4 separate regions of the Homo sapiens genome follow, and all the other regions are linked to region 1. Evidence: promoter capture Hi-C in 16 types of primary human blood cells and fetal thymus (Javierre and others, 2016). All regions are on one chromosome and are shown on one strand. Each heading gives the region's core, a stretch centred on a gene start or on the middle of the fragment in contact. The rest is flanking DNA. Distances are from core to core; before and after follow the strand shown. Region 1 holds the start of TOP1 (DNA topoisomerase I). Region 2 overlaps LOC105372618 (a long non-coding RNA gene). Region 3 has its middle 7.8 kb from the start of CHD6. Region 4 has its middle 47 kb from the start of CHD6.

Region 1 (6,636 bases), core at 3,921-6,420:
CCTCAGGCTCCCAAAGTGTTAGGCTTACAGGTGTGAGCCATCTGGCGGGAGGGACTTCTATCTCTTATCTCTTCTCTTCCTCCACCCACTTTCTCCTATATCCTCCCCCACTTCCAGGTTTCTCTGGCCCTTCCAACAGCAAGTATCGCCAGGAGCAGCTCCCTAATCTACATACTACAGATCTATCCACAAGAAGACAGATGGAACCACTCTTTTCTTCTGAATTCTAGAACCTTAAGGAAGTTAACCTGAGTGGCTCAGCTTGGATCAAGTGCCCATCCTGGTCCAAACAACTGTAGCAGCACATCTGTGTATTTGTGTATCTTGTTCCTCCATAATCTTGCAGTCCGGGGAAAGTGTGCAGATGGATGGGTCCCTGAAAAGCAAGAGTTGTTTAGACAACGCTAGAGGTGTTCAGTTCTGGGAGACAAGAGTTGGGCCAGGTTGATAACTAGCCTAAGAGAGTCGGAATCAGATGAATAAGAACTAGATCTTGGGTGACAACCTAGATCAAGAGTCTTGAGGTTCAGTCATTTCAAAAAGCTCAAGTCTCATTGCTTCTTGGCCTTCTGGCTAAGATCATGTGCAGTATCTGTTCTTACCAGTTTAATATCTGATACATCCTCTATCTGAGGATAATATAATAAATAGATTTTTGGAGCAAGGAGATGGAATAGGAGCTTGCTCTGTCCACTCTACACATTGGCCTGGATTGCAGTACCTCCAGGAATGGTGCACCCTCTCTACCACCCCCAAAAAGCCCAAGTCTCAAGAGGTAGTCTGGAAAAAAGTGTTTTTGGATTTACCTACATTTTTTTTTCCAAGATGGAGTCTCGCTCTGTCACCCAGGCTGGAGTGCAGTGGCGCCATCTTGGCTCACTGTAACCTCTGCCTCCAGGATTCAAGCAGTTCTCCTGCCTCAGTCTCCCAAGTAGCTGGGATTACAGGTGTGTGCCAACCATGCTCAGCTAATTTTTCTATTTTTAGTAGAGACAGGGTTTCACCATGTTGGCCAGGCAGGTCTCAAAGTCCTGACCTCAGGTGATCTGCCTGCCTTGGCCTCCCGAAGTGCTAAGATTACAGGCGTGAGCCACTGCGCCCGGCCTAATTTTTGTAATTTTAGTAGAGACGAGTTTTCACCATGTTGACCAGGCTGGTCTCGAACTCCTGACCTCAGGTGATCCACCCCCGCCCTCGGCCTCCCAAAGTGCTGGCACTACAGGCATGAGCCACCGCTCCTGGCCGGGTTTGCCTACATTTTGGAGATGCTGCACACCATGTCCCTCTTTTCAAGAGTCACGTAAGTATTTACATATGGAAGACCCTGAGAAGGCACCTGGGAAAAAACCTGTTTAACTGTAAATATAATAATGTATGTATTTGTATGTGGAGCTCTTCTTTTAGTGGATTATCTATAAACCGTCCACTGTTCCCAATGCATACTTTGGAGACAGACCTACACTACCAGTTTTCACCTGCTAGTTATTTTTATAAGGGTTGGGATGGTCCATGAGTGAACAGTCTTGATTTAAAGCAGTGTTTCCCAAACCTCATTTATTTGCCTATAGCCTTCCTGGAGTTTGTCTTATATGTCCGCTCTGTGCACTATTCCTATATGTTTTTATGTAAATCAATCACTTTTTTAAAAAGCCTCATCCCAGTTATATCCTTAAAACAATGGTTATTTTTTCTCATACACATCGAAATACATATCTATTAGAATTAAAATGCTTGTCCATGCACTATCAATAATCTCCTCAAGTACCATATGGTGGGGACATGTGTTTGAAGTGTTAGGAGTCAGGAGTGGTCTCTGTAAGACAGAGTAAGTCAGTCAACCTCTGAGCACTGCCAGCCACACATGCTGGCAGAGAAGTTCAGCCTGTGACAAGACTGCCCGGATATTTCCATGTCTGTGCACGGGGATGTCCTCGGTCTGCCATTGTGAAGTCTGTGCTGTTTTCATGCCTACCTAGTCTTCTTTGGAGGGGCCTGGAAAGCAAATGCAGGCTGGGTACAGTGGCTCATGCCTGTAATCCCAGCACTTTGGGAGGCAAAGGTGGGCAGATCACGAGGTCAGGAGTTTGAGACCAGCCTGACCAACATAGTGAAACCTTGTCTCTACTAAAATTGCAAAAATTAGCTGGGTGTGGTGGTACGTGGCTGTAATCCCAGCTACCCGGGAGGCTGAGGCAGGATAATTGCTTGAACCCAGGAGGCGGAGGTTGCAGTAAGCCCAGATGGCACCACTGCACTCCAGCCTGGGTGACAGAGACTCCATCTCAAAAAAAAAAAAAAAAAGAAAAAAAAGCAAATGCAGATTCTCCCTGGGAAACGGGGGGTTGGGAGAGTGGAGTAGTGTGGATGCATTGTTATTCCTGAAGGCCGTCCTCAAATTATCTTGGACTCACTGCAGCAAGCAGATGCCTCATCTTCTGGCCAGGGATTGATCCTGAGATGGGAAGAGTATGAGAAGAGACACCAACAGCAAGGCAAAACTGGCTCTGGCAGCTTGCTTCAGAGAAAGAGTATAGCTTTGGAGTCAGGCCGACCTGAGTATGAATCCAAGACTCAGCACTTACTAGGTGCCTGCCCTCAAACCATTATTTTTTGATAGTCATTACATACCCACAATGATCACCATGGAGTGGATGAGGAAACAGGGACTCAGAGAAGTTAAACAACTTGCCTGATATCACACAGGTAACAAACAGCAGAGCAGAATTCAAACCTAAGTTGATTTGACTTCCAAATGTGTGCTCCTAACCAAAGCAGGGTAACCTGCTTTGATTTGCCCATTTCTTGAGCACCTCTTCTGTAGGAGGGCCTGTTGCTGGGTGCTGGGAATTCAGTGGTAGGCAAGATGGACAAGATTCCCCCCTCTCACAGACCTTGCTTGCTATAGGGGAAATAGACAGGAAACCAATTACTACATTTGTAACTTAATAACAAGTGTCATAAGTGTTACAAAGGAGATAGATACTATAAGGCACCTTTTATTTTTATTTGTTTATTTATTTTTTGAGACTCACTCGCTCTGTTGCCCAGGCTGGGGTACAGTGGTGCGGTCTCGGCTCACTGCAACCTCTGCCTCCCAGGTTCAAGCGATTCTCCTGCCTCAGCCTCCCGAGTAGCTGGGATTACAGGTGTGAACCACCACACTCTGCTAATTTTTGTATTTTTAGTAGAGACAGGGTTTCACCATGTTGGCCAGGCTGTTGTTGAACTCCTGACCTCAAGTGATTGATCCACATTGACCTCCCAAAGTGCTGTGATTACAGGCGTTAGCCACCGCGCCTGGCCTATAAGGCACCCTTGGTCAGCCAGTGGAAGCAGGGTCAGTAGTGCGCCGGAGAGTCACTTTGAAAAAGTGATATTTAGGTTGATCTTGAAGCATTCACAAGATGTGGTAAACACATCTAATGGTAAACATGTGATGGTAAACATTAGATGTGATAAAGATACTGATGGTCCACTGGATGAACAGTTTTCATATTTACTTCCAAATGATTTCATAGATATTATTTCACAGATAACACTTAGGATGAAGGTAAATAAAAAGGAGATCAATTAAAATATGAAATAATAATAGTGAAAGTGGTAATAGATGTGGCAATATCCACAAAGGAGTAATGGTTAGATTAGCATATTGAGAAGATCACTTTGGCAATTGTTGGAATGCAGTTTACGAGAGGGCCAAGAATGGAAGCAGCAATCCCTGTTAGAAGTGTAGTGTTTTGGAGTGCGGTGTTTTTTGTTGGTTTGTTTTTTGTTTTTTTTAAACCAGGTCTCACTCTGTTGCCCAGGCTGGAGTGCAGTGCAGCCTCGACCTCCTCCTCGGGCTCAGGTGATCCTCCCACCTCAGCCTCCCGAGTAGCCGGGACTACAGGCACATGCCACCACACCCCGCCAGTTTTTGTATTTTTTTGTAGAGTCAGGGTTCTGCCATGTTGCCCAGGCTGGTCTTGAACTCCTGGGTTCAAGTGATCTGCCAGCCTCGGCCTCCCAAAGTGCTAAGATTACAAGTGTGAGACACCACCCCCAGCCAGCACATTGTATTAATCCAAGCAGGAGAACGCAGACTTCAAAGGCTTATGGGCAGCAGAGAGAAGTAGATGAAGCAAAGAGATGCAATCAGCGGGACTAGTGGGAAATGAGGGAAAGGAAGGTGTCAGGATGGGGCTTTTTCTAGCTGAGTGGAGTTCAGTTCATTCCCAGAGAAGCTTGAGAGGTATCCAACTATAGATGCAAGGTAGCTGGCTGTTGGTCCCTTGTCTTTAGGACAGTTTGACTTTTGTAATACAGGCGACCTCACAGAGCTATTGTGAGAATTCAGAGCTGGGCACAGAATAGATGCTCTATAAACGGTAGTTCTATTCCCCATTTGCCCCGTCCTCCCAGCATGCCAGGGATACAGGGGCGGATAGAGACAGGTTCAGTTCCCTTTGGTCTCTTGCATTCCCCCTTCCCTCAGCACAATTCCTGGGCTCATAGCGGATGCTCAATAAGTATTTGTAGAATGAACCAAAGAAATCAGACCCTTGGTGACCCAGGGCTACATGTACTCGGCGGAAAACTGGGGTTAAACCGGACCCTTGGTTGGTTGAAAAATTAAAATAATTTTTAAAAAGTGGGCGTGAAATAATCCAGAAGTTGGAGGGCCTGGACAAAGGCTGGGGAGGGGACTCCTCCCACCAGGCGGCCTCAGGGTCGGCTTAGCAAGAAAGGAGGCGCTGGGGAGACCTCTGGGGTCCCAGCTGCCAAGGTACTCGCCGCTCCAAGGAGATGCGGACGCCGGATACCAGCTCTGCCCAAGATTGCTGGGTCCCGCCGCGGCCTTTAAAGGCCCACCACGTGGCTGCGCGGCCAGCCCTGGTCCGGAGGCGGTGCCCGGGTGGCGCCTGCGCACTGCCTAGCAGAGGGGCTGGGGTTCCGAGAAAAAGCGTCTGGAGAGGAAGGGGAGGCTGCTTGGGGTGGGACGCCGTGGGAGGAGTCGGCTCCTTATGCAAATCACAGCGGAGCGCGCACGGTCCGGAGGCGGGGCTTGCGATGCAAAGACAGGTCCGTCTGGCGAACAGCGAGGGGGCGGGCCGCAACCCTCTGCCTCTTTCCGCGAGCGCTGACGTCGCCGACGTGTTGTTTAAAAGCGGCCGCGCAGGCGCAGTGAGCCCAAATGCGAACTTAGGCTGTTACACAACTGCTGGGGTCTGTTCTCGCCGCCCGCCCGGCAGTCAGGCAGCGTCGCCGCCGTGGTAGCAGCCTCAGCCGTTTCTGGAGTCTCGGGCCCACAGTCACCGCCGCTTACCTGCGCCTCCTCGAGCCTCCGGAGTCCCCGTCCGCCCGCACAGGCCGGTTCGCCGTCTGCGTCTCCCCCACGCCGCCTCGCCTGCCGCCGCGCTCGTCCCTCCGGGCCGACATGAGTGGGGACCACCTCCACAACGATTCCCAGGTACGGCCCGGCCTGACCCTGGCGGCCCCGGACCCCGGCCTGGCCGTCCCGCGACCCCCGGCGCAGGCCCCGACCCCAGCCCCGGCCCGGCAGCTTTGACAGGCCGGAGCCCCCGGTGAGGGGCCGCCTGCCGGAGTAGATCGGCTCGCTAGGCCGCGAGCGAGGGCCGCGAAGTTACAGTTCGAGGCAGGGATGGCTGCCCTCTGTGGCCACCCCCGGGTCCCCGTCCTCCCCGGGGGCGCAGGGTGAGCCAGACCCCGGCCGCGCGCGCTCGCCGCCGGAGGGGTTAAAGTGGCTGTTGTTTGATATTCTCTCCTTTTCTTTTTCCAGATCGAAGCGGATTTCCGATTGAATGGTGAGTGTGCCCCCTGCGCCGACTCCGGGGCCCCCCAGCCGCCGGCCGCCTCCCCCGCGCCCTGCCGGTGCCGGGCAGAGGACAGACATGGCGTCCCAGAGACTAAGTCCCGGCTCCTCGCTCACCGGCCCCATTGTTCCCATCGGGCCGCCTCTTGACCCCCTTTCCGGGGACCCCAGCTCCTCCAGATCCCGGCCCTCCCAAGAGGGGACAACGGAGACCCCGTGTCGTCCGCCACCGGGCCTCGGGCGGTCTTTCCGGGCCGGGATTCCTCCCGGGAAAGTCGCCTTGTCGACGGTCGGGACTTAGTCTCTGCGCCATTTTCTTTTTCTCTCTCCTCTCCTTTCTGTGCCTGTGTCTCTTTCTCTCCCTCCCTCGGCTCTTTCCTTGAGCTGCCCAGAATGAGCTTTCTGCAGAGCAAAGCCGTATAAATCACATACTTCACCAGAGAGGGAAGGCTGGGGGACTGAATTATTATTTTTTAAACTTTATTTTGGGGGTTATTCCCTTTATGCTTCATGTTTGTTTCCTTTTCTGCTTCCAGAATGAAAGATTTCCTTAAGCAACTGTTAATTTTTTTTTTGATAGGCTGTTTATGATAGGAATTATGGCTCTAAAACTAAAGCCACGCTTTGTGGAGTTCTTTATATTTCCAGGTTGTTTTTCCCAAGTTACGTTCTTTGCAAAGGTAGCAGTACCTCCCTAAAGAAAGTTTGCAAGTTCTCTGTGGGTCACCCAATGTAAATGTTGGATTTTTAAAAAATTATGTTAGTCACTGGAACTTTTCATTGTGGTCGAGGTTCCCAATGCAGTGTTTTTCTGGAAACGCAGT
Region 2 (6,032 bases), core at 142-2,641, 570 kb before region 1:
GGGCACCCCTTTGTGGTCAGTAGATACCCCAGAATTTTTTAAAAAGCCATGTCCTGGAAGGCAGGAGGCCTGGACAGCAATTCTCATGGCAGCAGGTGAGGTAAAAATAATACTTTTCCTAAATGCAGTCTATCTGCACAAGATTTTATAAAAGTGCTATGGGGTATTTTCTGAGAAATAAACTCCTTAATATGACTTCATGGTAAGAGTTCTATTTCCTTTATTCTCAGGAGTCCTAGGGAAGAAAAATATGCCCCCTGGCAGTGTTCCATAAAACTAATGATGTGGGGGAATACGTGAATAATTGCCTGAATCGCCGGGTTACATATCTGTTAGGAAATCTCTTGGCAATATAAAGAAGGGGCTCAGGACAGTTAAATTGAAGTCAAGTGAAATAAACTCCTGCTGCATCAGCTCGATGATCTTGTGGGTCAAGGGAGCTGTGGCAGCCCTCTCTGCACTTTGGGAATGTTGGGCCTCCAAGTTTTCTGGGTTCAGAGCAACAGGGACATAGGATGAGGAGTAGAAGGAAGGAATAAACAGGCATGGACCAGACATTGCAGGGATGCAAAGGGAAGTTCTGGAGCCAAGTCTTCAAAGCTACAGATCAAAAACTCGGGCAAGGAGCAGTGGCTCATGCCTGTAATCTCAGCGCTTTGGAAGGCCAAGGTAGATGGATCACTTGAGGCCAGGAGTTCAAGACCAACCTGGCCAACATGGTGAAACCTCATCTCTCTGAAATTCAAAAATTAGCTGGGTGTGGTGGTGGGTGCCTGTAATCCTAGCTACTTGGGAGGCTGAGGCATGAAAATCCTTTGAACCCAGGAGGCAGAGGTTGCAATGAGCCAAGATCATGCCACTGCACTCCAGCCTGGGTGACAGAGCAAGACTGTCAAAAAAAAAGGGAGGGAGAGAGATAGGGAGGGAAGAAGGAAGGAAGGAAGGAAGGAAGGAAGGAAGGAAGGAAGGAAGGAAGGAAGGAAGGAAGGAAGGAAGGAAGGAAGAAAGGATGAAGGAAGGAAGGAAGGAGAGAAGGAAGGAAGGAAGGAAGGAAGGAAGGAAGGAAGGAAGGAAGGAAGGAAGGAAGGAAGGAAGGAAGGAAAGATTACTGGTGAGTGGTCAGATAGATGGATGGATGAATGAATGAATTCTAAGTGTGGGGTTATTCCTTGTGCAATATTGATATTGTACTTCATAATATTATACTTCCAAAATTATTAGAGTAAAAGGAAATGATTCAAAAAGCAAGGAAAGGTTCAGTGTGCTGAAAAATACAGTAAGCCCAATTCCTTTCTCACCCACCCCACTCTCAGCCACGGAAAGAGGACTGATACTACAGCATCAGAGACCATCCAAGACAATACAGTTGTCCCTCAGTATCCTCAGGGGATTGGTTCCAGAACACCCTGTGGAAACCAAAATCTGCAGATGCTCAAGTCTCTAATATAAAATGGTATAGTATTTGCATAGAACCTATGCACATCTTCCCATATACTTTAAATCCTCTCTAGATTACTTATACCTAATACAAGGTAAATGCTATCTAAATAGTTGTTATACTGTATTGTTTGGAGAATAATAAGAAGGAAAAATGTCTACACATGTTTAGTACAGATGCAACCATCCTTTTTTAAATTTGTTTTCAATATTTTTGATCCACAGTTGGTTGAATCCACAGATGTGAAACTTATGGATATAGAGAGTTTTATGTTTTTTGAGAGAGAGATGGGGTCTCACTATCAAAAGCCTGGGGTTGCCCAGGCTGCTCTTGAACTGCTGGGCTCAAGCAATTCTTCCACCTCGCAATCCCAAAGTGCTGGAATTACAGACGTGTGCCACTGCACCTGGTCCAACTGTGTTTTAAATTATTCTTCCAGGGTAATATAGAAATTTGGATAAAATTCTTGAATTTGAACAAAGTAGACACCAGTTTGCACAATGCAGGACATCAATCCATCCATGCCCTTTGTCTCCAGATATCTGGTGTGGATGTGCATTCATGTCAACACAACTTTTTAAATTGCATTTTTTCCTCCTTCTCACTCATGTGTCTTCAGAGTAAACTGAAGAATTATTTCAGTGGAGCCATAAACCTCTCGGTCTCCCAAGACATACATATGGACTCCATGTCAATTTTCTCTCCCACACTGCACCTGAACTATTTCAAACTATCTTCCCAGTTGACCAAACCAGAAACCTCAGAGTCGCCCACTACTCTGACCTCTCTCTAACCCCCAACCCGTTAGTCTTTCTCTCATAAATCTCTCTGGTTCTTCCAGCCCACAGCCTGTCCACTCTCATCCAGGTCTCCACCACATCTCCCCTGGGTTGTAGGAGAAGCTCTTAGCTGCCTCTTGGCCTGGGCTCTCTCCTTTAAATCCATCCTATACCTAGAAACCAGAGGGATTTTTCCAAAACAGAAATTTGACCTCCCTGGTCCCCTGGCAACCCATCAATGGCTTCATGCTGTCTTTAAATTAAATCTGAACCCCATGTGAGGCTCTGCACAATTCGGCCTCTGCTTGTTCTTCCAGCCTCATCTCACCACTCCCTGCTTCTCACCCGAGGCCTAGCAGCAGCCTCCATTTCTCTGGCTCCTTGTTTTCTGTCACTTTCAATCATTAGACCTCCTCTTCTAGTTCCTGGAACTCAATTGCTCACTCCATCTCAATCCTTTTTTTACCTAAGCACGATTCTTTCACTCCACAGGTTTTGCTGAAGTATCCTACCATATTCTGCAAGAGAGTATCTCAACATCCTCCTAGCTTAACACTTAACAACATAGTATTATGTTAGCTTGATCAACTCACTCTCCTCCCCTTGTCTGAAAGATCAAAAAAGGCAGCCCCAGGCCAATCGTGTTTGTGTTCCTAGCACCTAGGCCAATTCCTGACTTAAAGTAGGTATTAGAAAAAACTTTTTGAATGCCAGACAAATCCATGAACTGAGGACAACTCTTTGTTTATTCAACATATATTAATGGAGGGCCTGATATGTGTCAGGTATAGTTCTCAGCGTGTGGGATACATCAGTAAAAAACATAAAATGCCTACCCTGGTGGTGCTTACTTTTCAGATGGAGGGAGACATTTATTTACATATTTAACAAATATTTATCCGGCAGAGAATCATTGCACACACAAAAAAGATGGGGTGGCCTGGCCAGACATGTACATGACAGATCAGTTCTAAAATATTTTCCTTGTTTTTAGTTTCTACTTCAATGAAAAATTTGTCGTCATCTTAGTGTTACCGTCCTGGAAATTCTCAATGTCCTCTTTGCCTGCTCAATGTTTCTCTGTAACAGTGTTCATCATCTAATATAAAGAGCAACACAAACACATAGTTTGTGCTCAATCAAAGCTTGTGGAATACAGAAACAAACAAGAAACTCCAAGAGCTCATTCAGTAAACTTACAAACAAGTAAGAAGATGAGCTTATGATCAGCCTGCTCAAAGCAAAAGAAAAGGGAAGGAAACAATTTTTCTAAGAGCCCTTCAGAAAAGGGAGAAAAGCTTTGCAAAACTCAGAGAACCCAGGAGCAGTAACTGATCTTTATGATCCAGTACAGAAGCCTGAGTAACCGCAGGCTGTCTCAGGTTTTAATACAAGGTTATTTACATAGTTACCTAATTATTATGTCTCAATAGAGGGAAGGAAAAAAAGCAAGTGTTTTTCTACTCCCTATTTGCCTTAAAGATCTAAGGGTAATAAATTGTTAGTTTTATTCTTAATTGGTACATGCTTCTTCCAATTTCTTTTCTTTAAAAAAATCAATACGTGGTTTGCGAGACCTTTAATGGAGAGTAAAGAACTGTGACTAGACTTCTTCCTTATTATTGAGATAATCTGTCAGCATTTATCTTTTAAAGGGGCCTCAGGTAAGGCAGACATGATTAAGTTTTTGCAGTAGTAAATGCTGGGCCATTTCTAGAGTTAAAATGATATGAAAAATATAACTGCATCAGGCTATGCCTGATAAAAGACAGTGTCTCTTTTGCAAAAATGTGGGCTGTGGGTCTGGTCTGCTGAGGCAGGGCTCCCAACATCTTGGAAATGTTGTGCCCAACCACTGCCCACTGCCCTGGCCGAGCTCCTGCCCCCACTGAGCTTCGGGAAGTGACTGCGGCTGTTCCCAGCGAGCCTGACCAGAGGCAGAGGCCACTGGTAACCTTAACCCCACGTGGGCAGGCCCTCGTCAGAGCCTCTCCCCAACCCTAAAATTAACCAGTAAGTTTTTGGAAGGGGAGGTGGACAGAGAAGTGCAGGGCCCTGTTTGCTCTTTGGAGCCCAAAGGAAACAGGAGCCTGGGAGCTGACACCCTGGGCCTGAAAAATTGTAATTGTTAGACAAGCCCAGGCATGTGAACAAGAGCTTCCCTACCCCAATCTGCAAGGCAGACACCCTGAGAGTGTTAGAGTTGGTATGGGCAGGGTCCTTCACACTCTGAAGTATGTGGTTACCCAGCAGGCTGGTGGGCAGAGCATGGAAAAGTCCGAATCAACCATAATCAAGTAAATGGCTAAGGCCGAGTTCAGGTAAGGCCCTGCCTACAAATCCAACTCACATTACCTGTGCACCTCATTGTGCCTGTGCCAGACAATGTGCCTCAATTTAACCTTTGCAAAACTTGTCTGATATGGACATTTGTATTCTCGTTTGATAGATAAGGGAGTAAGGGCTCAGAGAATTTAATTAACCTTCCCAAGGCCACACAGCTAAATGGCAGGACTAAGATTCACTATCAGTCTGTTGTACTTCTCAAGTTATCTTTGCTCTACCAAACATCCCAAGCAAAGAAGTTAACATGATGTAATGGTGAAGAGCATGGGCTCTATAGCCATAGCGCCTAGGTTTGAATCCTGGCTCTGCTACTTACTAGCTATGTGGCTTTAGGCAAGTTACTTAACTTTTCTGTGCCACAGTTTTCTCATCTGGAAAACAGGGACAACAGTTGTATATTTATCATCGTGTGATTAGGAGAATGTAAATATGTGAATATTTGTCAAGTACTTAGAAGAGTCCCTGGCGTATAATGAATACATATACATGTTTCATGTGTGCTAAATAAATAAAAGAAAGGGATCTTTTCATTCTCACCACACAAGAGTTCATTTTCCAGTCTCTGGACTCAGAAGAAGGTGTTTTGCAGTTTCCTAACATCATGGAGTCCGAAAAGTGCTTTTGCTACAAGGGTCTCACTTTACTGTCACAACAGCTGTCTAAAGAAGAAAGGAAGATTAGACCCATGTAACAGAAGAATACACTGAGACTTGACAACATGAGGACCTTTATAAGGTCATTTAGCAGGTAAATAAAGAGCAAGAAAGATCCAACTCGACCTTTCTGACCCTGAATCCGTGCTATGCCCACACTCTAAATAAAAGCATGAACTTGTGAGTTTGTGGATGAAAGCTTGGCATTGCGTCCAAAATGAGGCCATGGGACAGACTGCTGCTGCCATTTAACCCCAGGTCCTGAGAAATTCCTCAACCCTTCCCATGAGTCAGGGACTCCTGGATTCAGTGCTGCTGTGGACTGCCCATTATGCCTCTCCCCTGTACTCAGGAGATGGAAGACTCTCTAGAGTTGACCACTGTGAACCAAAGACAATAGAGTGTTCTCTTTTTGCACAAAGAACAAAACAGAACATCAAGAGTCTTAGTGATTTATTCAAGTCACATGAGTTCAATGAGTAGGGAACTGCATCAAGAGACAGCTTCCAGTTAATTTTATGAACCTTATATGCATTGCCCAATATGAGTGTTCAACCCCATGGTTCCCTGTTTTTTTTGGGTTTTTTTTTTTTTTGTCTTTTTTTTGTTTTGTTTTTTTGTGCAATCAATGACCTAAATTCTAGGGAAGTTAGGGTAGAACTAGAGAAGACAGGGAAGAGCAAAAGAAAACAAAATGTGCTCAGTTTGGTTCCGAGGAAGGGTGCGGAAGCTGGATCCAGATGGTGGGGGTTTGGGGAACTGGATAAATCAAGAGAGTTGAGGTCCTTGGAAAAACTGAAGACGGATGTTTTCAAG
Region 3 (6,408 bases), core at 3,030-5,529, 600 kb after region 1:
CTGGAGGTTCTTGGAGATTTCTGTTCACATATTAAAAACCCTGAGAGGTCCTACATTAATGAAATCTGTTAAAGTTTAATGTAATAGTTCTCAAAATTATTTGACCACAGAACCCTTTTTTCATTGAACACCTATTAAAACTGGTATCACGGCCAGGCGCGGTGGCTCATGCCTGTAATCCCAGCACTTTGGGAGGCCGAGGTGGGTGGATCATGAGGTAAGGAGATCGAGACCATCCTGGCTAACATGGTGAAACCCTGTCTCTACTAAAAATACAAAAAATTAGCCGGGCATGGTGGTGGGCGCCTGTAGTCCCAGCTACTTGGGAGGTTGAGGCAGGAGAATGGCGTGAACCTGGGAAAGGGAGCTTGCAGTGAGCCGAGATTGCACCACTGCACTCCAGTCTGGGCGACAGAGTGAGACTCCATCTCAAAAAAACAAACAAACAAAACAAAAAACAAAAAACAACAAAAAAACTGGTATCACTTAGGACTCAATTTGGCTGCATAAATATGAGAAAATGATATAATAAGATTAAAGTTTATTTCTGTCTTAAATAAAAGAAATTTGGGAAGCAGGCCGTCCAGGGGTGGCATGGCAGCTGTCCGGTACCTTCAGGAATCCAGGCTTCAATGTTTTTGCTCCATTATCCTTAGCTTTCATTCCCAAGGTCACTTCATGGTCCAAGATGGCTGCTGGAGCACCAGTCTACATGTCCTTGGAAGGAAAAAGGAAAGGCAAAGTGGAAAAAGTGGAGTTGAGTCCCTTAAACAACCTTCCTGGAAATACTACACATTTTACTTTTGTCTCATTGTCCAGAACTTGGTCACATGACCATGCCAAGCTGCAAAGGAGGCTAGGAAATCTGGTCTTTTATTTTGCTTTTCTATGTGCCAAGTTAAAAATTGGGTCTGTCACTAAAGAGTTGAGAGACTCAACTAGCAGTTTCTGGCATAATGCCCCACAGAAATAATGTTCCACAGAACCTAAATTGGGATAAAATGACTAAGTAAGGAGATTGATTTTTTAAACATTTTTAGCAGCTTTATTGTGGTATAATTCACATACCATACAATTTGCTTACTGCAAGTATACAGTTTGACGATGTTTAGTAAATTTATACAGTTGTGCAACCATCACCACAATCCAGTTTTAGAATATTTCTGTCACCCTCAGAAGTTCCTTGTTCCCTCTTGCTGTCAATCTCCACTCCCACCCCCAGGCCTGGGAAACCATTGATCTGCTTTCTTCTTTGGAGTTCTGCCTTTTTGAGAAATTTCGTATAAACAGAATAGTACAATATGTAGTCTTCTGTGTCTGGCTTATTTAATGTAATAATTGTGTGGTTCATTGTGTTGTAGAGTGTTTTGTCAGTTTGTACTTTTTAAAATTGCTTGAATGGCATTCCATTGTCTGCATATGCCACTCCATTGTCTGCATATGCCACCTTTTATTTATCACTTACTAAATGATGGACATTCGGATTGTTTCCACATTGGGACTATTATGAATAATGCTGCTATAAACCTTCAAGTAGAAGTCCTTGTGTGGACATATGTTGTCATTTCTCTTGGGTAGATGCCTAAGGAGACTGGTGTTTAAAACTGAATTCGTTCACTGAAAAGACATTTATTGAGTGCCTATTACTGACAAGTATTGTGCTAGATGCCAAGGATACAGTAGTGAATAAAATTTGACACAAACTCAGCCCTCATGGAGCTTGCAGTCTATAGAAGAGAAAGGCATTAGTCCAGTAGTCATGCGAACAAACGTAACATCACAGCAGTGGTAAGTGTGTGCTATAAAGGAGGGGTATAAGATGCTGTGAGAGATTATGCTAGAAGGATCTGCCTTTGTCAAGGAGGTCAGGAAAGCTGCCCTTGAGCTGAGTTCTGAAGTGTGTGAGAATGTAGTCACTCTGATTTCTGTCTTTCAAAGTAATATCTTAAGAAGCCATATACTTATTTCCAATAATGCTGCCCTTGCAAACATGTCTGAGCCAGTTTATAGACACACTGGTCTTGGGCCTATTTGTGCTTAGATAAAGTCTCTGTGTTTTAATCTCTCAGAGTTTTTGAAAACTGTGAAGCAAGCACAACGCACTGTCAGTAAAGGTACCTTTTCAGTCATCTCTCTCTCTCTCTTTTTTTTTTTCTTCAGAGACAGGATCTTGCTGTGTTGCCCAGGCCGGTCTCAAACTCCTAGACTCAAGCAATCCTTCTGCCTTGGCCTCCCCACACACTGGGATTACAGGCATGAGTCACTGCTCCCGGCCCATCTCTTATATTATTTTCTGTATGTTTGAAATATTTCATGATTAAACATCTTAAAAATATCCTTTTTAGTTCCCTTGAGAATTGTACCTGCCAAGCAGCCCAGCCTGTCTTGTCAGACCCTGACCTTGTTCTCTCTCTGTGGGAAGAGGAGACATGATCAGAAGGTGATTTCTGGAACCTGGAACTGAGGGGATGATGCTAATAGCCAGTATTCTGGAACTACACTGGTCCAATCCCTGTATCTCTACTGTAGGGGTGAATCTGCCACAAGGCATCCTCCTGCCAGAAGCTCCATTCTCCAGCACAAAGCTGGATAAGACTAGTTAAGCCCACAGGCTTTGAAGCCCTACAGATGTGGTTCAAATCTCAGCTCTACCACTAGTGTCCTTAAGAAAGTCACTTAACAGGCCAGGCATGGTGGCTCATGCCTGTAATCACAGCACTTTAGGAGGCTGAGGTGGGTGGAACACCCGAGGTCAGGAGTTTGAGACCAGCCTGGCCAACATGGTGAAACCCTGTCTCTACTAAAAATGGAAAAATTAGCTGGGCTTGGTGGCACACACCACTGTAATCCCAGCTACTCAGGAGGCTGAGGCAGGAGAATTGCTTGAACCTGCGAGATGGAGGTTGCAGTGAGCCAAGATTGTGCCACTGCATGCCAACCTGGGTGACAGAGTGAGACTCCATCTCAAAAAAAAGAAAAAAAAAGAAAGTCACTTAACTTACAGTTTCATGATTCCAATAATAGGGTTGTTGTGTGGATTAAATGATTCATGCAAAGTGCTTTGCACATGGCAACTGCTCAACAAATTGGTTATTAATATATAATTATCGCAGCCTTTCCTCTGCCTCCCATTTCCCCGTGTTCTGTATAGACTTTCCCCCTTTGTCGACCTGCAGGTTTTGAAACATATTAATTCCATTGATTTAACTGAAGTCAATCTCTGTTCTTGTGTTTGGCTTGGGGAACCTTCTGTCTTTTGGAGTGCCTTCTACTGATATATGGCCTCTACCCCTCATGTATTAATCTCACTGATTTAACTCTTACAGTGCCACAGAGCTCTCACTCTCACCCATGTATAGCACTACCGCTATTTTGATTTTTTAAATCCAAGGTTATATATAAAAATGACTGTGGTCCCTTTCAGTTACTATGATTTATGGAAAATCACACCTCAAATGTTCTTGGGCAGGATTTTTCAAAAACGCTGGTCACGCTACCCTGAAACAGCTTCGTAAATCCTTCATTCTTGCTCAGCAGTGTACTTTCCTGCAATGACCATTAGACAGTTTCAGCCATAAAAACTTGCTTAAGGCCGGGCGCTGTGGCTCATGCCTGTAATCCCAGCACTTTGGGAGGCCAAGGCGGGTGGATCACTTGAGGTCAGGAGTTCGAGACCAGCCTGGCCAACATGGTGAAACCCTGTCTCTACTAAAAATACAAAAATTAGCTGGGCATGGTGGTGTGCGCCTGTAACCCCAGCTGCTTGGGAGGCTGAGGCAGGAGAATCACCTAAACCTGGGAGGCGGAGGTTGCAGTGAGCTGAGATAGCACCATTGCACTCCAACCTGGGCAATAGAGCAACGCTCTGTCTCCAAAAACAAACAAACAAACAAACAAAAAAAAAAAAAAACAAAAAAAACCACAGCAACAAAAAAGTTCTTAAGCTTTTTACTAAGCCTCAAGTTGCTGTAGAATCCTTTTCTTTATGTGTGCAATTCTACCATCAACATTACTGACCAATTTGGTGAGGCTACCGTCTGAAAACTGGTAATAAAAATAAGCAACACAGTTTTACATACTAGAAACAAAAAACTATAGTTTTAAAAAATTAATTAGTTTCCATGTTTTTGCTGAGGTGAAGCATGGTAACTGTCCTTCCAGTTGGCCCCCAGTGATACTCACTTGCTGTGATTCAAACCCTTATACTGCCCTCTCCTGTACTGAATAGACCTGATTTATGTATGTAACCAGTAGGATATTGCAGAAGTGACAGAGTGTAACTTCCAATGCTAGTCATAAATGGCATTGCAGCATCTGTCTTGCTGTTTTGGGTAATTTGCAATGGGAAGAGTCCATTGTCATGACATGAGGACATTCAGTCAGCCTTATGGAAAAAGTCTTTGTGGCAAGAACTCAAGGCCTCTTGTCAGGAACCATGTGAATGGGCCATCTTGGAAGTAGATCCTCCATGCCTAGTCAAGCCTTCAGATGAGACTGCATCCATCCCCAGCCAACATTTTGACTGCAACCTCATGAAAACCTAAGTCACTCTCAAATTTCTGACCTATGAAAACTATGTGAGATAATAAATGTTTATTGTTGTTTTTAAGCCACCAAGCTTTGGAGATAATTTGTAATGCAGCAATAGATAACAGTATTTCCTTGGGTGATACAACTGACAGCCATCATTAAGTTACTGTATATTTAAAATGTGCTTTGTATAAATTTGCCCCACATTTTAAGTGTTTTCTTAACATATGATCTACATCCAGATATTTTAGGTTATTCTATGACTCATTTCAGTCCCATTCAGCAAACATGCTGTATTAGTCTGTTCTCACACTGCTATAAAGAACTACCTGAGACTGGGTAATTTAGCAAGAAAAGAGGTTTAATTGACTCACATTACTGCAGGCTGGACAGGAAGCATGATTGGGGAGGCCTCAGGAAACTTACAATCATGGTGGACGGGCAAAGGAGAAACAAGCACATATTCACGTGGCGGCAGGAGAGAGAGAGAGAAAGAGAGAGAAAGAGAAAGGGGAAGTGCTACACACTTTTAAACAACCAGATCTCATGGGAACTCATTCACTATCATGAGAACAAAAAGGAGGAAATCTGCCCCCATGAGTCAATCACCTCCCACCAGGTCCTTCCCCTAACATTGGGAATTACAATTCAACATGAGATTTGGTTGAGGACACAGAGCCAAACCGTATCACTTGCATTGCCTACTTGTATCAAAGCCTGTTCGTAACAGAAAACTCCAGATCAACCATCAGCAATTTGAACGAAACTGATGGCAGTAAGTTGTTTTTCTCCATCCAATTCCATTTATTGTGAATGATTCTTATGCTTTCATGATTGTAGTTAAATCTCTGGATGCCAGGAAGTCCAGCTCCTACCACTTCTTTTGCTTCTTTTTGGAATATATGCCAGAAGGGAATAAAGTTGAAGAGAATGATGCCCCCATGTTACTAAAACATGCACTGTTACATTGACAGTTCATAATAGCTAATTTTATTGCATAATTAATATGAACTAAGCACTGCTTTTAAAATTTTTAAAAATAATTTCAATTTTTATTTTAGATTCAGTGGGTACATGTGCAGGTTTGTTACATGTGAATATTGTGTGATGCTGAGGTTTGGGGTGTGAATGATCCCGTCACCCAGGTGGTAAGTATAGCACACAATAGGAGTTTTTTCAGTCCTTCCCTCCTTCCTCCCTCCCACCACTAGTAGTCCCCAGTGTCTATTGTTCCCATCTTTATGTCCATTTGTACCCAATGCTTAGCTCCCACTTATAAGTGAGAACATTTGGTATTTGGTTTTCTGTTCCTACATTAGTTAGCTTAGGATAATGACCTCCAATTACATCCATGTTGCTGCAAAGGACATGATTTTATTCTTTGTTATGGCTAGATAGTATTCTATGGTGTATATGTACCACATTTCATTATCCAATCCACCATGGATGGCCATCTAGGTTATTCTATGTCTTTGCTCTTGTGAATAGTGCAGTGACGAATGTATGAGTGCACATGTCTTTTTGGTAGGATGACTTATTTTTTGGGGGGTATACACCCAGTAGTAGAATTGCTGGATTGAATGGTAGTTTTGAGTTATTTGAGAAATCTCTAAACTGCTTTCCACAGTGGCTAGACTAATTTACATTCCCACCAACAGTGTATAGGTATTCCCTTTTCTCTGAAGCCTCGCCAGCATCTATTATTTTCTGACTTTCTAATAATAGCCATTCTAAGTGGTGTAAGATGGTATTTCATTGTGGTTTTGATTTGTGTCTTGATGATTAGTGATGTCGAGGTTTTTTTTTAATATATGTTTGTTGGCCACTCATATTTCTTCTTTTGAGAAATCTTTGTTCATGTTCTTTGCCTACTTTCTT
Region 4 (6,454 bases), core at 3,791-6,290, 640 kb after region 1:
CTGGTGTGAAGAATGGGTTGAAGAGAGATGAGAATGAATAGAAGGAGACCCGGAAGTTGTTTGCAGCAATTCAAATGTGTGGAGAGGGTGGATGGGGTGATCCAAGGAAAGGCAATGCAAGTGAGAATGGAGAAAAATGGGTGAGTGAATTCAAGAAATGGTACTTTATTTTCTTTCTAAAAAGTGACCCTAATGCTATAACTCTTTATTTTACAGTTCTTTCACAGCTGTCTATGTCTTCCAGGGTAAAGCACAGTGCTTAGTATGACTCTTGCTCATTGCCATGTGTACCATAAGCTCCAGCCTTGCTGAAAGGTTTTTCGGTATCCCATAAGCACTAGGGGAGCTCAGGCCCTCAAATATTTGCACAAAAATTCCCCTTAGGCCTGGCTGACCTTATTTCCTAATGTTCGTTCTGTGGCTTCTGCCCCTACCATTAAAATACTATCACTAAGTTTATCAATGACGTTCCTGTTGCTAAATCAAAAACATGTTTTTGAATCCTTATCTTATTTGATCTTAGCTGAACTCAACATTTGGCCACTTCCTCCTTCTTGAAATATATATATGTATTTTTCATTTTTATAGTATGTGCTTAGCACTATTCTGAAAGCCAGGGATAGAGTGTTGGCAAAGTAGACATTATTCTTGCCTTTAAGTAAGATGTGATGAGGTCCAATCAAGGATAGAAGTGTAGGAACACCAGCAATTGAAGGAGAGGAATAAGAAATAAGAAACATGGGCTGTTATTAGTTATCATCGTCTTGGAGGTTCTAGAAAATGCCAAAAATAAACGAAATGGCTAACATAAATATTGGAAATAAAGAGCTAAACCTACTCCTTTTTTTCTGTTGTTATTAACAAGAAAATGCAAGAGGTTTCAGTAGAAAAAAAAAGAGTATATGAATAAGATAATTTGATGATGGCTTGTTAGAAGGTAAATATACAAAAAAGATCCATATATTTTCTTTAGTCTATCAATAAATACTTAGAAGTGGGATGGGAAAATGTTTATAATAGCCTCAAAAACTACAGAATAGTTAAGAATATATTTAACAGGAAAGGCACAGGAAAAACTATATAAAAACTCTAAAGTTTATTGAAAGACATAAAAGAACCCAATAAAAAGTTTACCATGTTCTTGGATGGGAAGGCATAATACAAAAATTTTATATATCAATTTATTGTAATTCCATTTAGAATCCCATAGGTTTTTGTTTGAATTGAATAAAGTGAGCTTGTTCTATGAAGGAATAAATGGATGATAATTATGAAAAGAAGACATAGGAGTAATATATTGTCAGATTTGATTAATAGTCTGGGAAAAGCAAATTGAGGTAACACCACTTTATGTCCACCAGACTGCAAAAAAGTAAAAAGGAGCTATTGCGGGTGGGGATGTAGCAAAGTGTCTCTCATACATTGCCAATGGAAATCTAAGTGATGCAGGCTTTCTGGAAAGCCTAGTAATAGCTATTAAAATTTAAAATTAATATATCCTTCACCCAGCTAGCCTACTCTTAGGATTCTATCTCTTAGAAACAAGAGCACCAGTATGCAAGGATGTAGATGTATTGCTTGTTAATTGTGAAGGGGAAAAAAAAACCCAGAAAGAAAGCTAATGCCCACTAATGGGAGAATAAGGGCATACATTTTGATACTTTTTTTGAAGCCATCAAAAAACATGAATTACGCTGGGTGTGGTGGCTCACACCTGTAATCCCAGCAATTTGGGAGGCCGAGGCGGGTGGATCACCTGAGGTCCGGAGTTCGAGACCATCCTGGCCAACATGGTGAAACTCCATCTCTACTAAAAATACAAAAATTAGCCGGGCGTGGTGGCAGGTGCCTGTAATCCCAGCTACTTGGGAGGCTGAGGGAGGAGAACTGCTTGAACCCAGGAGGTGGAGGTTGCAGTGAGCCGAGATCTTGCCATTGCACTCTAGCCTAGGCGACAGAGTGAGACTCCATCTCAAAACAAACAAAAAATGAAAACCATGAATTAGAGCTATACCAATGAACATGGATAATATTTCACAATGTATTGACTGAGAAAAAACAAGATGAAGAAAGGTTTTTTTTTTCTCCCAGAAAACAATGACAGAAAACTGTATAAAACTTATGTGTGTGTACGTTTGTTTGTATAGGTCTGAAAATAATTATATAAGCATGGGGGGAAATACGAAGGGTTATTTTAATAGTATTAGATTCACCTATGAGCAAAGAAAGCCCAAAATAACAATGGCTCAAATAAGATACGTAGTTCATTTCTCTCTCATGTTAAGCTCCGTGTTAATCTGGAGCTGATGTGGTTTCTCTCTTTCATGAAAATCTCTGGAACCCAGGCTCCTTCCAGCTTTCTGCTCTGCCATTACTAGAATGTGAACATCTTGAAAGTCCAGCCTGCACAGTTTCATCCTCAGACTTCACGTTCCATGTAGCAGGTTAGAGAAAGAGGAAGGAGAAAGGGTATATGTAAATTGTCTCTTAAAGATTTCTGGATGCGCAACAAAATGCTCCCATTGGTCAGAACTTAGTCACATGAACACATCTAGCTGCAAAGGAGAATGGGAAATGTAGTCTTTATTCTGTGTGGCTATGATCCCACCCAAAAATTTCGTGACGCTTTGCACGCATGCATTCTTGTAGACAACTTAAGAATCAGTCTTTCAAGTTCCAAAAATAATCCCCTGGGTAGTTTGACTGCAACTGTATTAAATCCATAAAGTGATTCAGGGAAAGCTAACATATTTATACCATGTAATGTGGTATACCTCTCCAACTTTTTATCTTGTTTGGAATATTTTAGAATTTTCTTCATGTAAGTTTTCTGTATTTCTGGTCATAGTTACACACAGTTATTTACAGTTATTGTTGCAATTATGAATGGAAGTTCTTTTTAGTACAATTTACTAAGTGGCTATTTTTGGAATATAAGAAAGTCATAGATTTATATTTCTTGTATTGAACCAATTTATTGACCTTTCTTATTAATTTCAGTAATATTTTCTGTTGGGTTTCATGGATTTTCTAAGAAGAAAAGACTGTAGCCTGAAAATACAAATAATTTGCTGTTTCTTTTAATATGTATTTCCTTTGTTTTTTTCTTACCTAATGGCACTGTTCTGAGACTCCAGAAACATTTTGATTAATGGCAATAATAGTGAGCATCCCATTTAATAGAAACGCCTCCAGTATTTGTTTAATGTTTTACCATTAAGTTTGCTGCTTGTGGCTTCTGATTTTAAAAAGTGTCCCTGGGCCCTCTGTTCTTTGCTTAGTAAGGTGTTTATCATTATTTTTGTCATCACTGTCATTATTATCATCATCTGAAATGGAGGTTATACTCTAATTAATGCATTTGGGCATATATTGAGATGATCATATGGTTTTTTTCCTTTCACTATCTGATGTATTACAGGATGCTTAGTTCAACAAAGATTTCTTAATGTTGAACCAATCATTCTTCCTGAAATAAACACTACTTGGTCATGGTACATAACTCTTTTAATATACTGCTTGGTATGACTTACTAATATTTTATTTAAGACTTTCATACCAGCAAGTGCTTGGTTAGATTTTTGCATTATAAAATGAAATTGGATCTTTTTTGATGCTAGTTTAAATATCTAGTTTAAACAACATACAAATGGTATTTTTAATAAGATTTCCTAGAACCTACTCATAAAACCATCTGGGGCAGAATTACCTAGGGGCATAGATTATTTACATTTTCAGTTTTATCAATGGATTTTAGTATAGGTTCCTTTTGTTTTGTTTTAGTTTTTAGAGGTATGTACTTGCTCTGTTACTCAGGCTGGGGTACAGGGGCACTATGATAGCTCACTGTAGCCTCAAACTCCTGGGCTCAAGGGATCTTCCTGGCCCAGCCTCCCAAGCACCTAGGACTGCAGGTGCTTGCCATTATGCCCGGCTGATTTTTTAAAACATGTTTTGTAGAGACAGGGTCTCTTTGTGTTACCCAGGCTGGTCTTGAACTCCTGGCTTCAAGAGATCCTGCCACCTCGGCCTCCCAAATTGCTGGGATTACAGGCATGAGCTACTGCATCTAGCCTATATAGGTTTCTTAGAATCAATTTTAGGAGCTTATATTTTTATGGGATACCATTCATTTTAGGTAAATGTTCAGGTATATTAACATCAATTTTAACATAAAATTTTCAAATAGCTTAATTATTCTTAATATGTGGAGATAAAGACCCTACTCCTGAGCCCTGGCATTGTGTTACTTGTGATTTATTTCTTAATTTTTGCTTATGCTTAACAGTAGTTTTTCCTTTTCTTCTTCATTTTCGTCTTTTTAAAGAAGAAGCTTAGTTTTATTTATCAAGTCTGGTTATTTTGACATCTTAGCTTTTATCTTTAATAATTCCTTTCTCCTAAAATATCGATGGTCTACCCTCATACTTATTGATAGCTTTGCTAAGAGAATTCTAGTTCAAATTTTTTTACAAAGAAATAAAAAAGTCATTGCTCTATTATAATAAGAAATGAGATAAAATTGTTCATATCAACAATGTGTTACATACCCAGCGCTGTTGAGTGTGTGAGTAAAAGCCACTTTCAGACACCACTACTGAGAATGCATGTTGGTACAACCATCTGGCAGGCAATTTGACAATATGTATGAACACTTAAAATGGGTATACATTTGAACAAAAAATTGTACTTCTAGCAATTTACACTTGGGAAATTAACTAGATCAGCAAACAAAGATGTATTTACAAGGATAGCCTTTAGAGTATTATTTCTAGTGGTTAAAATTGGGAGATGGATTGAATAAATGATGGCATAGCCATATAATAAAATACTACACAGTCATGAAAAAGAATGTGATAGGTGATGTTTTAAGTTGATATCAAACAGCTGGTTAAACCACAGAAAATATGATTCCATTTATGTAATTATATTACATATAATCTGGAAGTGTGAAGTGTGGCTATTTCTGGAGACAGGCAGTAGATCTTTAACATTCACCATTTTGTGTCATTCTTTCAATAAATATGCCTTATCAGAAAAAAATAATTTTCAGGAAAGAATTCCAGCTGCTTACACATTCTGGATTATATACCATAAGGATTTATTACATGCTATGCTGGGTAGCAGAAGCGATGAGGAAAGGGAGGGTTAGTAGGGTTCTACACTTGGATGGTGAAGAGAAGGTAATGTTTTTGCCTAGAGAACGTAGAGGATTGATGAAAGTTTCTTCCCCCTCACCAGGTAGTAGACACTTCAAGAGATAGGGGAGGAGTCCCCTGGAAACCGAACAAGGGCTGGGTGTCGTGGCTCACACCTGTAATCCCAGCACTTTGGGAGGAAGAGGCAGGTGGATCATGAGGTCCGGAGTTGGAGACCAGCCTGGCCTAAATGGCGAAACCCTGTCTGTACTAAAAATACAAAAATTAGCCGGGTGTGGTGGCGCATGCCTGTAGTCCCAGCTACTCAGGAGGCTGAGGCAGGAGAATCCCCTGAACCTGGGAGGCAGAGGTTGCAGTGAGCCAAGATTGCACGCTGTACTCCAGCCTGAGCGACAGCGTGAAACTGTGTCTCAAACAAAACAAAACAAAACAAAACAAAACCATAAAAAACCAAAAACAAAAAAAACCAACAAGGAGGCAGGACTCTTACTGTGCCCCAAGTTGTCTAGACCTTTTGGGTTTCCTCCAACCCTGAGATCCTGCCTCAGCTTGCTTGCTACGTGTCCTCAACATCTGTCACAAGTGTCCTAAGCTTCTGCCCTTTGAGTCACCCACAATTCCTAAATGTACCTTGCATCTTTGTATCTGTCTGCTTTTCCTGATGTGGTCCTTCCTAAGGAACAGAATATTCCACTTCTCTAGAGAAGAACAAATACCCCTTGGTTCTTCAAGATCTGGTTCATGGTAGATTAGATTATTATTCAGCAAATATTCACTGTTTCTCACTACATATCCATGGAGGAATGTTCTTCCTTTCATCTTGACTTTGAGCTTCTCCATGTGACTTACTTTGGCCAATGGGATGTTAGTACACATGATGTGAGCAAAGGCTTAAAATGTGCTTGCATGTTGGGCTTAGTCTCTTGCATGCCTATTTTTTGCCATGATGACCAGGTAGCCACAGGTACAAGGAGGCCCCAAATGCATGGAACAGACTTGAGCCAAATACATGGCCTGGAGTGCAGCCTGTATAAGCCTAGACAAAGTCAGAGTCAATGCATAGCAAACCTCCAGTCACCTGGATGAGAAACTTACAAATATGTATTGTTCAACACTGAGGTTGCTGCAGTGTTTGTTATGCAGCAGTAGCTGCCAGATGCATAGCTTTCAAGGTCTCTTGCCCTTTATTCTCTGAGTTCTCCCCCCCAAATCCCACCTATAGTACAACTGCTTAAAAGCTGTTATTATACTATATTATGATTATCTGATTGATGTGCTTGTATCCCACATTAGAT

What was found. The method cuts DNA at HindIII sites, captures the fragments that hold promoters and counts their contacts. A CHiCAGO score of 5 or more calls a contact.
Region 2: a fragment that was not itself captured here is called in contact with the fragment with the promoter of TOP1 in region 1 in 1 of 17 cell types (neutrophils); the score reaches 6.2 in neutrophils.
Region 3: a contact is called between a fragment that was not itself captured here and the fragment with the promoter of TOP1 in region 1, in 1 of 17 cell types (non-activated CD4 T cells). The highest score is 5.5, in non-activated CD4 T cells.
Region 4: a fragment that was not itself captured here is called in contact with the fragment with the promoter of TOP1 in region 1 in 1 of 17 cell types (erythroblasts); the score reaches 5.7 in erythroblasts.

What each region holds. Positions count from the first base shown.
Region 1 is chr20:41,023,652-41,030,287 of GRCh38, forward strand. TOP1 (DNA topoisomerase I) reads left to right here and starts at 5,171. Exons shown (of 21, transcript NM_003286.4): 1 at 5,171-5,449; 2 at 5,780-5,804. The coding sequence starts at 5,417. It overlaps LOC100128988 (a long non-coding RNA gene), which reads left to right. Exons shown (of 3, transcript NR_145525.1): 3 at 118-1,745. It also overlaps the pseudogene RNU2-52P. RefSeq lists silencers at 4,870-5,221, 5,442-5,511. The HindIII fragment of the contact is 6,355 bases long and covers 4,222-6,636 here.
Region 2 is chr20:40,459,220-40,465,251 of GRCh38, forward strand. It overlaps LOC105372618 (a long non-coding RNA gene), which reads right to left. Exons shown (of 3, transcript XR_936718.3): 2 at 5,101-5,222. Among named protein-coding and RNA genes, the nearest start is that of MAFB, 230 kb to the right of the region's middle. The HindIII fragment of the contact is 3,937 bases long and covers 1-3,360 here.
Region 3 is chr20:41,622,988-41,629,395 of GRCh38, forward strand. No RefSeq gene overlaps it. Among named protein-coding and RNA genes, the nearest start is that of CHD6, 7.8 kb to the left of the region's middle. The HindIII fragment of the contact is 674 bases long and covers 3,943-4,616 here.
Region 4 is chr20:41,662,259-41,668,712 of GRCh38, forward strand. No RefSeq gene overlaps it. Among named protein-coding and RNA genes, the nearest start is that of CHD6, 47 kb to the left of the region's middle. The HindIII fragment of the contact is 1,418 bases long and covers 4,332-5,749 here.